3 separate regions of the Homo sapiens genome follow, and regions 1 and 2 are each linked to region 3. Evidence: promoter capture Hi-C in 16 types of primary human blood cells and fetal thymus (Javierre and others, 2016). All regions are on one chromosome and are shown on one strand. Each heading gives the region's core, a stretch centred on a gene start or on the middle of the fragment in contact. The rest is flanking DNA. Distances are from core to core; before and after follow the strand shown. Region 1 has its middle 110 kb from the start of MIR11400. Region 2 has its middle 90 kb from the start of MIR11400. Region 3 holds the start of TAS2R38 (taste 2 receptor member 38).

Region 1 (4,639 bases), core at 479-2,978, 400 kb before region 3:
CACCCTACAAACATCCTTACCCCAAATGTAAAATGTCAAAAGCCCCGAGATCCACACACTCTCCTACTTATTTTAGGCCAATGTGAATAAGAGCACTCACTATACTATCCCCATAATCCTTTCTCTTCTCTTACTGGGTTCCTTAACCTTGCCACAGTTTTGTAAATTGTCTTTTCATCCCTCCTCAATACCTCCAGGACCATGGTTAATAGACATAGCAATGGAAAAGTGAGTCTTGGAGATCTTATTTTGCTTTAACAAAATAATACAAGTTCTAACATTCTGCAATTAGAAATAATACAATTTCTCACTCTTTGCAAATAGCAGTAACAAAAATTCTATCACATGCAATTAGCATTACCAAAAGAGTTGGGAGAAGCATTAAAATATGCAGTATGAAAATAAATAGTATGACTTGAGTACATGGAATCTAAAGAGGTTCTAGTAGAGAATCATGATGCATGCTCACCTCCTCTTACCTAGAAGTCTGTGGCAGGGTGGATCTACTTCATAAACATAGTGGACACTGTGATGCTTCATTGAGAACCCATTTTCAGACCCATTGCCACATCCCTTTAGAGTTGAGCCCCACACTGGGTTCCCGTCCACAAGAACCATCTTCACTCAAGGTGACACCTTCACACAGTAGAAAAACTGTGTTAATTGCAGAGATGCAAGGTCCAGCATGTCCTAACAAGATGTGCCTTTGGCTTAAGAGGCAAGAAGAGAAGAATTAGGGACTGGAAAAAAGTCTTAAATATTTGAAACAATATTTGAGGAGGGTGAAAGACTGAGCTAGTAAAAGGACCATACTATAATCTCAAAGCAGGGATATAAAGGCAGGTAAGCTTAGTGACTATGTATTTATCATGATAACAGTTTGTGCCGGTGTGACTTACTCTGACAGCATTCAGCTTCTGCCATGCCAAAGAGATCAGTGCATTTATTCTTGTTTATTTTTGTAAATGAAAGGGAAGCCTAAGAGTATCAATATAAAATAATAACTATTTGCAAGCTAGGATTTTTAACACGTAACATCCTCATATCTGCTCTAGAATGAGTAAAGAAATTCTGTAGGGACCCTAGGAAATAGAAAGAATATTTACCAGTGGAGAGGAGATGTCAATAATATCAAAGAACAGGTATGATAGGATAAGAAGCTGTAGGCAGATAGTGGAATATTTAATTTGTGATTTTGGAGATTTAGCATTTTCAAGTGATGACAAAGAAAAAGGGATGGGGCTACTAATGAGGAGGAGTAGAGTAAGTAACAGAATGGAACAACTCATAATTCTGTTATAGGCAAGATATCCTTGAAATGCAAAGAGTAGTCACTGTAAAAGGAAAAATATATATGAATTAAACTTCAAAAAATAGAAAATTTCAGTTCATGAGAAGACTCTATTCAGAAAGTACAAAGGCAGGCCACTCTGGGAGAAGACTAACTCAATATATTTAATGGTCAAAAGGTTTATATAAAAAATACAAACATATTATACGTATTAGTAATATAAGAACAAACAACGTAAGATTTTAAAACAGGCAAATTTAAAAGCAGACACTTGAAAAAAGGAGATAGAAATTACTAATGAAAACAGAAAAAAATGTAAATATAATTACTTATAGAAAAATGCATAGAGATATCACTACAGACCCAATAGAATGATTAAGAAGAAGGTAGAACATGATGGCCAAATAGAAGCCTTCGTTAACTGTTCCTCCAAACAAGAACATCAAACTGAACAACTATCCACACAAAATAGCACCTTCATAAGAACCAAAAATCAACTAAGTGACCACAGTACCTGGTTTTAACTTCATATCACTGAAAGAGGCACTAAAGAGGTAGAAAAGACACTCTTGAATTGCCAATACCATGCCTCCCCCATCCCCTGGCAGTGGCCATATGGCTTGGAGAGACAGTCTGTGCATTTGGGTTAGGGAGAGTGCAGTGACTGTGGGACTTTGTGTTGGAAGTCGTTGCTGTCCTCACACAGTGGATAGCAACAGCAGGCAGGACTCAGCCAGCACTCATGGAAGAACATTTAGACCAGCCCTAGTCAGAGGGGAATCACTTATCCCAGCAGTCAGAACCTGAGTTCTGGCTAGCCTCGCTACCATGGGCTAAAGTGCCTTAGGGTCCTAAATAAACTTGAAACACAGTCCAGGCCACAAGGACTACAATTCCTGGGCAAGTCTTGGTGCTGTGCTGAACTCAGAGTCAGTGGACTTGGGGACACATGACCTAGTGAGATACCAGCTGGGGTGGCCAAGAAATTGCTTATGCCACCCCATCCCCAACCTCAGGCAGCACAGCCCACAGCTCCAGGTGAGACTCCTTTGGATATAGTTTGGATATTTGTCCCCACCCAAATCTCATGTTGAATTGTAATCCCCATGCTGGTGAGGGGTGTTTGTATCACGGGGGCAGATCCCTTATGGCTTGATGCTGTCCTCAGAATAGAGAATGAATTATTGTGAGATCTGGTCATTTAAAAGTATGTTTTAAATGACCTTCCCTCCCTCCCCCACACACTCTCTTTCTCTCTCTTGTTCCTGTTTTCACCATGTAATGTGCCTGCCTCCCCTTTTCTTTCTTCCATGATTGTAAGCTTTTGAGACTACACCAGAAGCAGATGCTGGTGTTATGCCTTCTGTACGGCCTGAAAAACCATGAGCCTATTAAACCATTTTTCTTGTAAATGACCTAGTCTCAGGTATTTCTTTACAGCAATGCAAGAATGGCCTAATTCAGAAAATTGATACAAGAAGTTGGGTATTGTTATAAAAATAACTGAAAATGTGTAAGCAGCTTTGGAACTGGGTAATGGGCAAAAGTTGGAAGAGTTTAGAGGGCTCAGAAGAAGACAGGAATATGATGGAAAGTTTGGAATTTCTGAGAGACTGGTTAAATGGTTGTGACCAAAATGCTGATAGTGATATGGAAAGTGAAGTCCAGGCTGTTGAGGTCTTAGATGGAAATGAGAAACTTATTGGGAACTGGGGCAAAGGTCACACATGTTATGCCTTAGCAAAGAACTTGGGTGCATTTTGCCTCTGCCCTAGGAATCTGTGGAAGTTTGAACTTGCGAGTGATGACCTAGTGTATCTGGTGGAAGAAATTTATAAGCAGCAAAGTGTTGAAGATGTGGCCTGGCTGCTTCTAACAGCCTACACTCAGATGTGAGAGCAAAGAAAACACTGAAAGCTGGAATGTATATTTAAACAGGAAGCAGAGTGTAAAAGTTTGGAAAATTTGCAGCCTAACCATGTGGCAAATAAAGAAAATGTTGTGGGAGAAGAATTCAAGCAGGCTGTGGAGCTACCACTTGTTAGAGATATTAACATAGTTAAAAAAGAGCCAAGTGCTAATAGCAAAGACTTTGGGAAAATTGCCTGAAGACAATTCAGAAATCTTCCAGGCAGTACCTCCCATCACCAGCCCTGAAGCCTAGGAGGAGTGAATAGTTTTGTGTGCCAGGCCCAGGGTCCTGCTGCTCTGCCCAGCCTCAGAACACATCGGCCTGCATCCCAGCTGCTCCAGCTCCAGCTGTGGCTCAAAGGGGCCCAGATACAGCTTGAGTTGCCACTTTGGAGAATGCAAGCTATAGCCTTGGTGGCTTCCATGTGGTGTCAAGCCTACAGGTGTACATAATGCAAGAATCAAGAAAGCTTGGCAGCCTTCATCTAGATTTCAGAGAATTATGGAAAATCTTTGGTGATCAGGCAGAAGCCTGCTGCAAGGGTGGAAACCTTACAGAGAATCTCTATTAGGGAAATGCAGAGAGGAAATTAGAGGTTGGAGGCCCCATACAGAATCCCACTGGGGCATTGCCTAGTGGAGTTTTGGAAAGGGGACAACTGCCCTCCAGACCCCAGATCGATATTGTCACTGACAGCTTGCACCCTGTGCCTGGACAAGCCAAAACACCCAACAACATGTGAAAGCAACCCTGGGGGCTGAACTCTGGAAAGCCACAGACGAAGAACTCCCAAGACCTTGGTAGTCCCCCTTTGCACCAGTGTGTGCCCTGAATGTGGAACATGGAGTCAAGAACTATTGGAGATTTAAGATTTAATGACTTTGGCTGGGTGCAGTGGCTCATGCCTATCATTTCAGCACTTTGGGTGGCCAAGACAGGAAGATCACCTGAGGTCAGGAGTTCGAGAACAGCCTGGCCAACATGGCGAAATCCCATCTCTACTAAAAATATGGAAATTAACCAGGCATGATGGCACGTGCCTGTAATCCCAGCTATTCAGGAGGCTGAGGCAGGAGAATCACTTGAACCCAGGAGGCAGAGGTTTCAGTGAGCTGAGATCGCACCACTGCACTCCAGTCTGGGTGACAGAGCAAGACTCTGTCTCAAAAACAAACAAACAAACAAACAAACAAAAAGATTTAATGACTCTCCTGATGGGCTTCAAAGTTGCATGGCGCCTGTAGCACCTTTCTTTTGCCCAATTTCTCCCTTTTGGAAGAAGAATGTTTACCCCATGCCTATACTCTTGTTGTATCTTAAGAGTAAATATATATATTTTTAATTTTACAGGCTAGTAAGGTGGAAGAGATGTGCTTTGTCTTAAATGAGGCATTAGACTTTGGACTTTTGAGTTAATGCTGGAAAGAGTTAAGACT
Region 2 (5,078 bases), core at 137-2,636, 410 kb before region 3:
TAATATTTTACAAGAAAAACAAGTTAAGGAACTCATGGATTCTAATCCAAGCCACAGTGATGGTAAGAATTAAGTTCCTTCCTTCATCTATCCTCAGAGGACCTCAAACAGGTACTCAGTAAGAGTCTTACAATCTCTTTGATAATTCTACTAGCTGATTATCTTCAGGTCTAATGGCAGAGTTTGTTGTATTTATTAACATTCTCCCTAACTGGATTGTTCTCTTGTGTGTTTATAACTTTATAACAAAAAAAATGGATTTTCTTGTCCTCCACAGAACACATGCTTGGTATCTAAAGGAACCAAAGCCAAGGTGATGTTATGTATGCTACCTGAGAATCCCAGATCACTCAAGCAGGCTAAAGCTTCCCAGCTGCTTTCTGCTTTTTTCTTCTCTCCTGAAAAGAAAGTGAAATATGAATTTCTTGTTAGAAGCTACCATTCCTTTGCACAATTACCAGAATATTCCAAATTGAGCAAAATAACATTACGTTGTTTGCATTTACACATCCGCACTACAGTGACAGACCCAGCTCACTCTAAGTTTTATGCTGCAGGAGCACACATAGAATGAGATCCCATTGCTGGGAAGTCTGGGAAGAGCTTCAGAAAGGGCAGCTTTTTCTTCTGGTTGAGACACGGGCTTCCATAAGGAGTGCCCACCTCCAGCCTGTGACTGCCCTTTTTGTGCAGAGGGCAGCTGGCTGTGCAGGGCTGCGGATGTGCTGCCACAGTGGTACAGATAGGTCTGGCTGGTGCTGGTGGATGCCAGGATTGGGGAAATGCTCAAGCTTGTTTCAAGAGACACAGTACCCCTCTGTGACATCAACTTTGGTCCTGCTGTGACCACTGCCTGAATAGTGGATAAGCTTCAGCCCCCGTCTTGGGTCTTGTCGATATCAGAACACTGTTCCTAACCTGAGCACATTCCAGGATCATCTCTTTCTTCTGTACAATGTGATATCTTGGCATCTGGGTGATCCCAGCATCAATAGAGCCTGCTGGAGAGGCAGACAGAAAGTGAAGACAAGACTTAAGAAATAGGGGGACTCTGCAGAAGAAAGGACAAAAAAGGCTTGTAGCCCAGACATTGCAAACCCATGACAGGGTTTTGCAGCTGTTTCCAGAACTTATCTGCTCCCAGGAGACAAAGGGTCACACAGAAGAGTTTGGGGTTCATGGTAGGGTCAGAGTGAGGAGGGGCTGGCCCAACTAAGTGCAGTGATCCTCAGGACTGTGAGCTGGGGCTCGGAGGCTGCTCCCTAGGGAATAGTCTGGTGGGCCTGTGGTGTCACCCCCCATGCCTACGGAGTCCAGCTGGTCCAGGGCCTTCTGACTGGTCTCAGGCAGGATCCACCTCCTCTCATGAAGGCTGTTGCCCGGCGAGGTCTGCAGGGAAGATGGGGTGCAGCAGAGACATACTGAGCTTAGGGCACAGCCCGCCCCTAGCTTTCCCACGTTCCTTTGAGGCAGTTGCTCCTCTGCTTGCACCTGCGCTTGACACCAAGGCTGCCAGGCCAAAATTCTTCAACTGTGGATCTCATTAAAGATTAGAGGTATTTCCTGCATCTTGCATAGCTGTAGGTAGCCTAGCAATGACTGAAAACTGCTGCAACATCTGCATAATATTGGATTCCAGCCCTAATTTTTCTTAACCCTTCCCTTCCTAGGCTGCTCTCCCAGGCTCTCCCCAGAGTCCCTTAGATCCCAGTGGACCACAGTGCCATCTTGTGGCCAATACGTGAAGTTTCATCATTGCTTTTGCAATGGCCCAAGGGATGCTGGGAAGTGTCTGCAGAGTGAGTGAGAGACTATTCTAGAAGTGTCATCCTGCAGGTTTTATGAGCAACTTCCCTAAACCCTGATTCCAACACTAGTTCTAACCCTGACTATTGCTTTACTCAAAGCTTAATATCCCACCCTCATTCTAAATAACTCTTATCACATAGCTGCAGTTAGAGTCTAATTAATATTTTCTCCCTTAAAACTATCATATAAAGGGAGTGGGATAGAATGGGAGGAATGGAAGAAAATTGGATTTACTCTTAAGTAGGCAGAACATACAGGAATTGAAGTGCATAGTTATTTCATTTCATTACCAAAGATGAAATACATGTCCCCCAAAATAACAATCAATGTTACCATAAACATAAAGATTAGCAAAAGATTAGGATGATAATGAGATTGCCTTCAAGATGGCATCAAATACGTATTAATAAAAAGTAAAATTTGAATGTAAAAAGTAGGATCTTTTGTAGGCAACAAGTAATCTTGAAGGGAGCAGTATCCAATGTGGAAAATAAGGATGGATAATGAAGACCAGCAACGAGCCTTCCACAGAAAATGATTAACATATACAACGCACATCTGCTGATCTGAGCAGCGGACATGCAAGCAATGATTCTGGAAGAGGCAGTGGAGTGGTGTGAGATGAGGATCCCCTGGTGCAAAATAGTATCATAAGGAAGCAAGGAGAGAGAGGAGGAGGTTTATGAGCAGGAAGGAGGCGATTGTGTCATGCTGTGGTTAAGCTGCTGGCACGGAGATACGCGGCTGAGTCCCCCTGCTCTGTGCGCTGGATCTTCAGAGTAGAGACGGATCCCTCAGGCCTGACTGCAAAGAACCGATCTTTGGGCAGCCCTGAGTCATCTGCCGCACCCGTGCCTTGGAAGTAAATTAGAAACTCTGGGCCCTGCCCCAGGCTTTGTCGGTACCAGTAAAGGGCAGTATGACCTGAAATTGGATCACACCTGAGCTCTACATCTTTTCCCTTCTCTGTGACCTTGTTACTGGGGGTCTGGGAGACTCCAGCACCTGTGTGATCTGCGGAGACACAAGTTGAGAACAGGATGAGGAAAACAGTTGTACTCATCACACACACACACACACACACACATACAGACACACAGAATGAGACTGGTTGGTGTCTGAGGACTCACCTGCCCCCAGGAGGCACAGGGCTGCCCAGCAGAGGAGCCTGGTGCCCATGACAGAGTCAGGGCAGGATGGGAGCTTTACCAGATCAGGGTCACTGTGAGCAGGAGCAGAGGAGGAGGGACGTCCTTGTCCTGACACAGAACAGTACCCACAGTGACATCACTTCCTCTCTCAATCCCCACAACCTCAGGAACACAGGATTTATATTAGAACACACTTGGATGACTGCTTTAGATATTTATTAGCTCCCTTTAAACAACATCAATGCATCGGTCTTCACTTTGTGCTCTAGAGCTGTCTGGAGCTACAGGCCTCATGCTGCATTTCTGAGTTTATCTCCTCACCACACAGGCGCTCCTCTGTCTGCTGGGCATGTTCTCTAGGATGTGCCAACAGCGCCCCCAACACAAGGCACCAAGGGATGAGCTCATTGTCTTTCCTGCAAGTCAGGGTCCCCTATGCCATCCCCATTGATGCCCCAGCCTCCTCCATCCCCCAGTCACACGTGCCCAACGGGGCTGTCCCAACACATGGGTTCCCTCACAAGCTGCACCTCATGCCTTTCTTCTGGGACCACTTCCCACCTTTGTTGACTATAATTCAGAAAAGATACCTTATTGGAAAACTCATAGTCTTTTTTTTTAATTTTTCCACTTGTAAATATATTTTCCTCCATCTCAGTGTTTAATGAATGGGGATTATAATTCCTACTAAATGGTTATTTCTGATCCTCTTTCTTTCATTGATTTTTTCAGTCTATTCCACTAGGAGAGATTTATCTTTTCTTTTTGACAGCTTTTAGAATCATCTATTTGTCACTTATGTTCCACAATCTCATTATAATATAAACATTTATCTTATTTCATATTCATTTGAATTCTTGAAATTGAGAATTTAGGTCCTGAACCACCTCTGGAAAATTCTCAGCTAATGTCTCATCACAATCACTTATTCCCTCTACTTTCTTTTCCTGAAACTTCAATTATCTATAAGAAAAATGGGAAATATATATATTTATATATTGTATATAATATATTCTATAGAATATATTTATATATTCTATATTATATAATATATATTCTATATTATATAATATATATTATATATTATATATTATTATATTATATATTTTTATATAATAAATATATAATTAAATATATAAATATAAATAACTTTATATAAATAAATATATATAATTAAAAATTATATATTCTACTATGCTGGAAACCACCCTTAAGCTCTTTCTAAAGTTACATATTTAATTTTCGGTGCTGCATTCTATGTAACTTCTTCAGCTCTGTCCTTGACATCACTAATAATCTCTTAGAAGCATTTCATCTTTCTTCATTTCCATTTTGTTTTCAGTGATAATCTTAATCATTTCTGTATTGAATTTGATTTTTTTTTAATGTTATCTTGATGGTTTCTGTCAGTCTTTTTTTCTTGTTCACATTTCAATTTCCTTTAAATATAGTTCTACAAACTTTCATACCTTTTAATGGTAAAAATTTCTTGTCTTCAAACACTTCAATTGCTTATTGTTTCTGCTCACTTCTCTTCATTGGTTCTTGTTTTAATAGTCTTAATAGTGGAAGCATATTTATCTGACATTAGTCTGTGGTGTTCAAGAGAGGCCTGCATTGAGAGTGAAGAACTTCAAGACTCCATGGTTTTTCCAACTGTCTCCAGTCTTACCACCAAATTCATGGGGCCAAGAATTGTCTGTTGCACTCTGGGTTCCTGAACATGCTCATGGTTTAGGTTCCTGGGGAACATGCTCTCAGGACAGCCACAATTTACCCTCTAGAACACAATTCTGATTTTCTCTTACTTTTATATGATGCCTTCTCCACAAATTAGCAACTATAAGGCCATTCCCATCCTGTTCTTCCAAGGGAAAATAATATAAATATATTTTAAAAATCCTAAATCTACAAATGTGCCCTCTTCAGGGGTTTTTTTGATCCTAACCCAAAACTTTAAGAAATAGCTTAGATATTATAATTATATACAGAGAGTTTACCCTCATTCAGCTTGAAGAACACATCATATTTTAAATTGGAAATTCCCAGACTGACAAACTGGCTTGCACCATGCATGGTCCTATGCTTGTTCAACAAGTGAGTGCTCCTTGATGAGCT
Region 3 (4,970 bases), core at 1,434-3,933:
AATTCCAGGCCTCGCAGTGTTCTGGCGCCACCTGGTGGGAGCTGTTAAATAGCGATGGGGGAGGACTCGGTTGCTGGGGAGCTGGAGCTTCCTGGAAAAGCTGGAGTCCATTGCTTTGCCCGATTATTTGGGGAGATTGGAGGTGCAGAGACTCCTCCTAGGTCTGTTGTTTCCCACCTGTCTCGCTGTCCTAGGAATTCCGGCAGGGGGAGAACAGGAGATAGCCAATCACGGGGGAAGAATGGGAGATAGCCAATCACTAGTTACTTTATATTGTAATCACACGGTAGTGGAAGAAGTCGCCCTCCAGCCTCACCTGTGGCTACAAGCCAGCCACGCGGGCCTCCCCTCTCCCCGTGAAAGCACCGAGCTCCTTCCTGCCTCATCGACTTCCTGGGTGCCATTTCATCTGTTTTGAGTGCTGTTGATGATGGCCACTGCCAGTGTTTCCTATTGACACTACCCCAATTGTATGTTTCCTGTCCGTTGTCTCTCCCCCAACATTGTTTCTTTCAGTTCACTCCGCTATCTGAAGTCATCTAGTGGTGTTTTTCCTCTAAAGTAAGGTATGGCTTACTTTAAGCTTTATGGCTTTAAGGCTGTGCTCTTTCAGTTCCTCTAATACGCCTTTGTTTACCAGTGTGTCCTCAATGCCCATTACAACAGGTGGAATATATTTTGCTCTTAATAAACATATATTGGTATGTCCATTTCTCTAGTCATTGGAAACATCTAAGCAAGGTATTTTAAGGGAATGAGGTTTGATATTACTAATAATAGTGTTCTTCTGTCAAGCTAACAAAGACCAATTTTTAAAAATCAATCCAAAGAATGTAATTCCAATCTCCAAAAATAAATGGCAGCAAAAGTCGAAACACCAATTTATATAGGTTAAGAATTTTTAACATCTGTTTAGTTGCAAAATCCAGGGACTAAGATTTTTTTAATTACATCTGATAAAGATGTAGTCACTGACTTATATCACTACTAATAACAAATAAGGAGCTTTTGTGTTCCTACCACTGCTCTTACTGGCATTGCAGTTGACTTTACTGTTTTTAGCTTCCTGAGTAAACCATTTTTCAAAAAATAGCCAATAGCTAAGGACTATCTGCAAAGGAGATTACTTAGATAATCCCAAACACTGTGTGTACATAAGTCAAATGGAGGGGGTGTATCAATGAAGGTTTGTGTTACCTTTCTCTGAAAGAGCCCTTGATTATTGAAAAATTAAGATTGGATCTGGTGTTCCAAGAAATAACATAAAGAACTTTATTTTTTAATAAAAGATTATAATCTTGATATAAATGGTTCTAACTGTATAGTTATATATCTCTGCTTGTGCAGTAGAGCAAGTTTCTACCTAGACTTTTTAGGGAGGCAAACATCTTTTCTAAACACCTTTAGTGCAACACCGCCACCTGGTGTGGTGAAGACAAGGAGAAAATTAGCTTAAGTTGAAAGTGCAGAATTCTGTGTTTGACACTCTGTAAGCATGAATGACCCAAATGAAGTGGTCACAAACACAATTAATTAAATACAACTGCTACATCATGATGCACAAATAAGGACTACATAAATATCTGCGTATGAACAGTTCAGAATAAAACAAAAGTGAACATCTTTAGTAATCACTGACTTATGTCACTACTAATAATAAAAAAGGAGCTTTAGTCAAAAGAAAACATAAAAAATACAAAGAGAAAGTATCGAAAAACACCAATGGGGCAGCACCAATAACTCTTAAAGGATTTATCGGGGGAAATTCACTCATAAGTGGCAGTTGAACAATGAGAACACATGGACACAGGGAGGGGAACATCAAACACCAGGGCCTGTCAGGGGGTAGGGGGCAAGGGGAAGGAGACCATTAGGAGAAATACCTAATATAGATAACGGGTTGATGGGTGCAGCGAACCACCATGGCAGGTGTATGCCTATGTAACAAGCCTGCATGTTCTGCACATGTACCCCAGAACTTATACTAATTAAAAAATAAACATAATAATAATCCAAACCAGCTATGCCCCCTTTCCTCTCCCTTCATGACAGCGTGCTAGTCTTGTTCATGTTAATATTCTCCTTGCCAGGCACAGTGCCTGGCATAATAATGATGATTGCATGAAACCTTTGGCAACAGCAAATAAAACTGCAATCATACACTGACACATGGAAAGGAACCATGCATTTATCTATATTAAAAACACAGTCTGTGATAAGAGTCATTACTTCACAGATGAGAGAAGGAATGCAAATGAAAAGAGACTCTATTTCAAACCTTAGATCACCAAGAATATCTGCTTTGCCTGCTGCAGGGTGCCTCAAAACCCATAAGCAAATCCTGTTCTCTTCGCCACCCCCACAGGTCCAGATGGGCATGCAAAACTGGATTGGGGAAATTGAGGCCCTGTTTTGTTTGCATCCGTGATGCTGTGCTATGGCCTTCTGGGAAGGCGGTTGTACAGGAACACCTGGATTTATTAATCTTGCATCACCCAAGAGGTAGAACCATCAGTCTTCCACCCTATGATAAGCTCTTACGTGTATCCAAGAGATGTTCTAGAGAAACAACATCCCTCTAAGTTTCCTGCCAGAACTTTTTATGCGCTCGCTTTGGGATAGATCTAGGCAAAGAGCTGGATGCTTTGTGAAGGAAAGGTCCTGGCTTGGAACGTACATTTACCTTTCTGCACTGGGTGGCAACCAGGTCTTTAGATTAGCCAACTAGAGAAGAGAAGTAGAATAGCCAATTAGAGAAGTGACATCATGTTGACTCTAACTCGCATCCGCACTGTGTCCTATGAAGTCAGGAGTACATTTCTGTTCATTTCAGTCCTGGAGTTTGCAGTGGGGTTTCTGACCAATGCCTTCGTTTTCTTGGTGAATTTTTGGGATGTAGTGAAGAGGCAGGCACTGAGCAACAGTGATTGTGTGCTGCTGTGTCTCAGCATCAGCCGGCTTTTCCTGCATGGACTGCTGTTCCTGAGTGCTATCCAGCTTACCCACTTCCAGAAGTTGAGTGAACCACTGAACCACAGCTACCAAGCCATCATCATGCTATGGATGATTGCAAACCAAGCCAACCTCTGGCTTGCTGCCTGCCTCAGCCTGCTTTACTGCTCCAAGCTCATCCGTTTCTCTCACACCTTCCTGATCTGCTTGGCAAGCTGGGTCTCCAGGAAGATCTCCCAGATGCTCCTGGGTATTATTCTTTGCTCCTGCATCTGCACTGTCCTCTGTGTTTGGTGCTTTTTTAGCAGACCTCACTTCACAGTCACAACTGTGCTATTCATGAATAACAATACAAGGCTCAACTGGCAGATTAAAGATCTCAATTTATTTTATTCCTTTCTCTTCTGCTATCTGTGGTCTGTGCCTCCTTTCCTATTGTTTCTGGTTTCTTCTGGGATGCTGACTGTCTCCCTGGGAAGGCACATGAGGACAATGAAGGTCTATACCAGAAACTCTCGTGACCCCAGCCTGGAGGCCCACATTAAAGCCCTCAAGTCTCTTGTCTCCTTTTTCTGCTTCTTTGTGATATCATCCTGTGCTGCCTTCATCTCTGTGCCCCTACTGATTCTGTGGCGCGACAAAATAGGGGTGATGGTTTGTGTTGGGATAATGGCAGCTTGTCCCTCTGGGCATGCAGCCATCCTGATCTCAGGCAATGCCAAGTTGAGGAGAGCTGTGATGACCATTCTGCTCTGGGCTCAGAGCAGCCTGAAGGTAAGAGCCGACCACAAGGCAGATTCCCGGACACTGTGCTGAGAATGGACATGAAATGAGCTCTTCATTAATACGCCTGTGAGTCTTCATAAATATGCCTCTGATTCTTCAGGAATACAACTCTGATTCCTCACAAAGCCTTCCAATTTCTTCTATAAAACACAATTGAAAGTCTCTCCACTTTGTATCAATGAACTCACTTATAGATGAATAAAATAATTAAGCACTATACATGGCCTAGGCAAGAATAATGTTGGTACCCTAGGTTTGTTTTGATAAAATGAACAAAATAATTAAGTATTTGGTGTAAATCCTTTATATACTATAGCTTATTATTGGTATAAATCAAACCATGAGAAATCATCTCTTCTGAAATAATATCTAAATCCCAAGATAATATGTTTGGCTTTTAACATGACTGTTAAACCTCTTTCTCGGAACTTGTGCTAGCATCATTTTTGGAAATATTCACTACTACAATAAGGATATAATCCTCTTCAAACTTCGCAATTTTCATGGAAACAAAGACAAACTTGGAATGATAATTATGTCATAATTCCAGCTTCAAGAGGTACCACATAACTTCAACTTCAAGAGGCACGAGAGGATAGGGGTCGTTTTGTCTGAAAATACACTGATCCAGAAATGCACTTTTACCTACTCTATAATGATGGAAGAGAAGCAGATATTTGCTCAGTAGGTGACCTGGATGCCAGTAGGTGCCCTGTGTGGGCTTTCTGGCTATGCCCAATTTGCCTTTGAAGATGGTGCTTTGCCTGGTACCAAGTATTGGTCTCTCTGGTTGGAGACCCTACCAAAATCACCTAGCTGAAAGGTAAATTTGTAGAGATTTGGCATTGTCTGTATTCCTGCACAGGAACCCAGCCAGGAAGGCTTTCCTCAAATCAGGTACTGAAAGACTCAGGAGAAAACAAGGTATACCAGACATTTAAATCTTGATAGGCTTCGTGGTTCACAGGCTTCACAGTTGTAGCAGCTCACCACCAAGGCTCTTAGTTCTGCCAGCTGTGGGGCCAGAGAACTGTTTCCTCCTCTCAGGCACTTGGTCTTAATAGATCCAGATCTTCACCTCAGTTTTCCTCCAAAAATTAGCCATTTCTTCACCTGCAGTGGCTACAAAATTTGCAACTTCATCTGGCTTCCTTTCCTTGGTGGACACTGAAGTTGTCCCAGGATTCCCTTAAAGACCTAGGTCCTCGCTCTTGGCTGCACATTGAAATTAT

The links. Contacts are between HindIII fragments. The CHiCAGO score rates a contact against its expected background, and 5 or more counts as called.
Region 1: a fragment that was not itself captured here is called in contact with the fragment with the promoter of TAS2R38 in region 3 in 1 of 17 cell types (erythroblasts); the score reaches 5.2 in erythroblasts.
Region 2: a contact is called between a fragment that was not itself captured here and the fragment with the promoter of TAS2R38 in region 3, in 3 of 17 cell types (naive B cells, M1 macrophages and total B cells). The highest score is 6.4, in naive B cells.

What each region holds. Positions count from the first base shown.
Region 1 is chr7:142,366,928-142,371,566 of GRCh38, reverse strand. It overlaps TRB. Among named protein-coding and RNA genes, the nearest start is that of MIR11400, 110 kb to the left of the region's middle. The HindIII fragment of the contact is 1,764 bases long and covers 847-2,610 here.
Region 2 is chr7:142,382,289-142,387,366 of GRCh38, reverse strand. It overlaps TRB, TRBV7-3 and the pseudogene TRBV8-2. Among named protein-coding and RNA genes, the nearest start is that of MIR11400, 90 kb to the left of the region's middle. The HindIII fragment of the contact is 1,038 bases long and covers 868-1,905 here.
Region 3 is chr7:141,971,486-141,976,455 of GRCh38, reverse strand. TAS2R38 (taste 2 receptor member 38) reads left to right here and starts at 2,683. Exons shown (of 1, transcript NM_176817.5): 1 at 2,683-3,825. The coding sequence starts at 2,767. The coding sequence ends at 3,768. The HindIII fragment of the contact is 7,298 bases long and covers 586-4,970 here.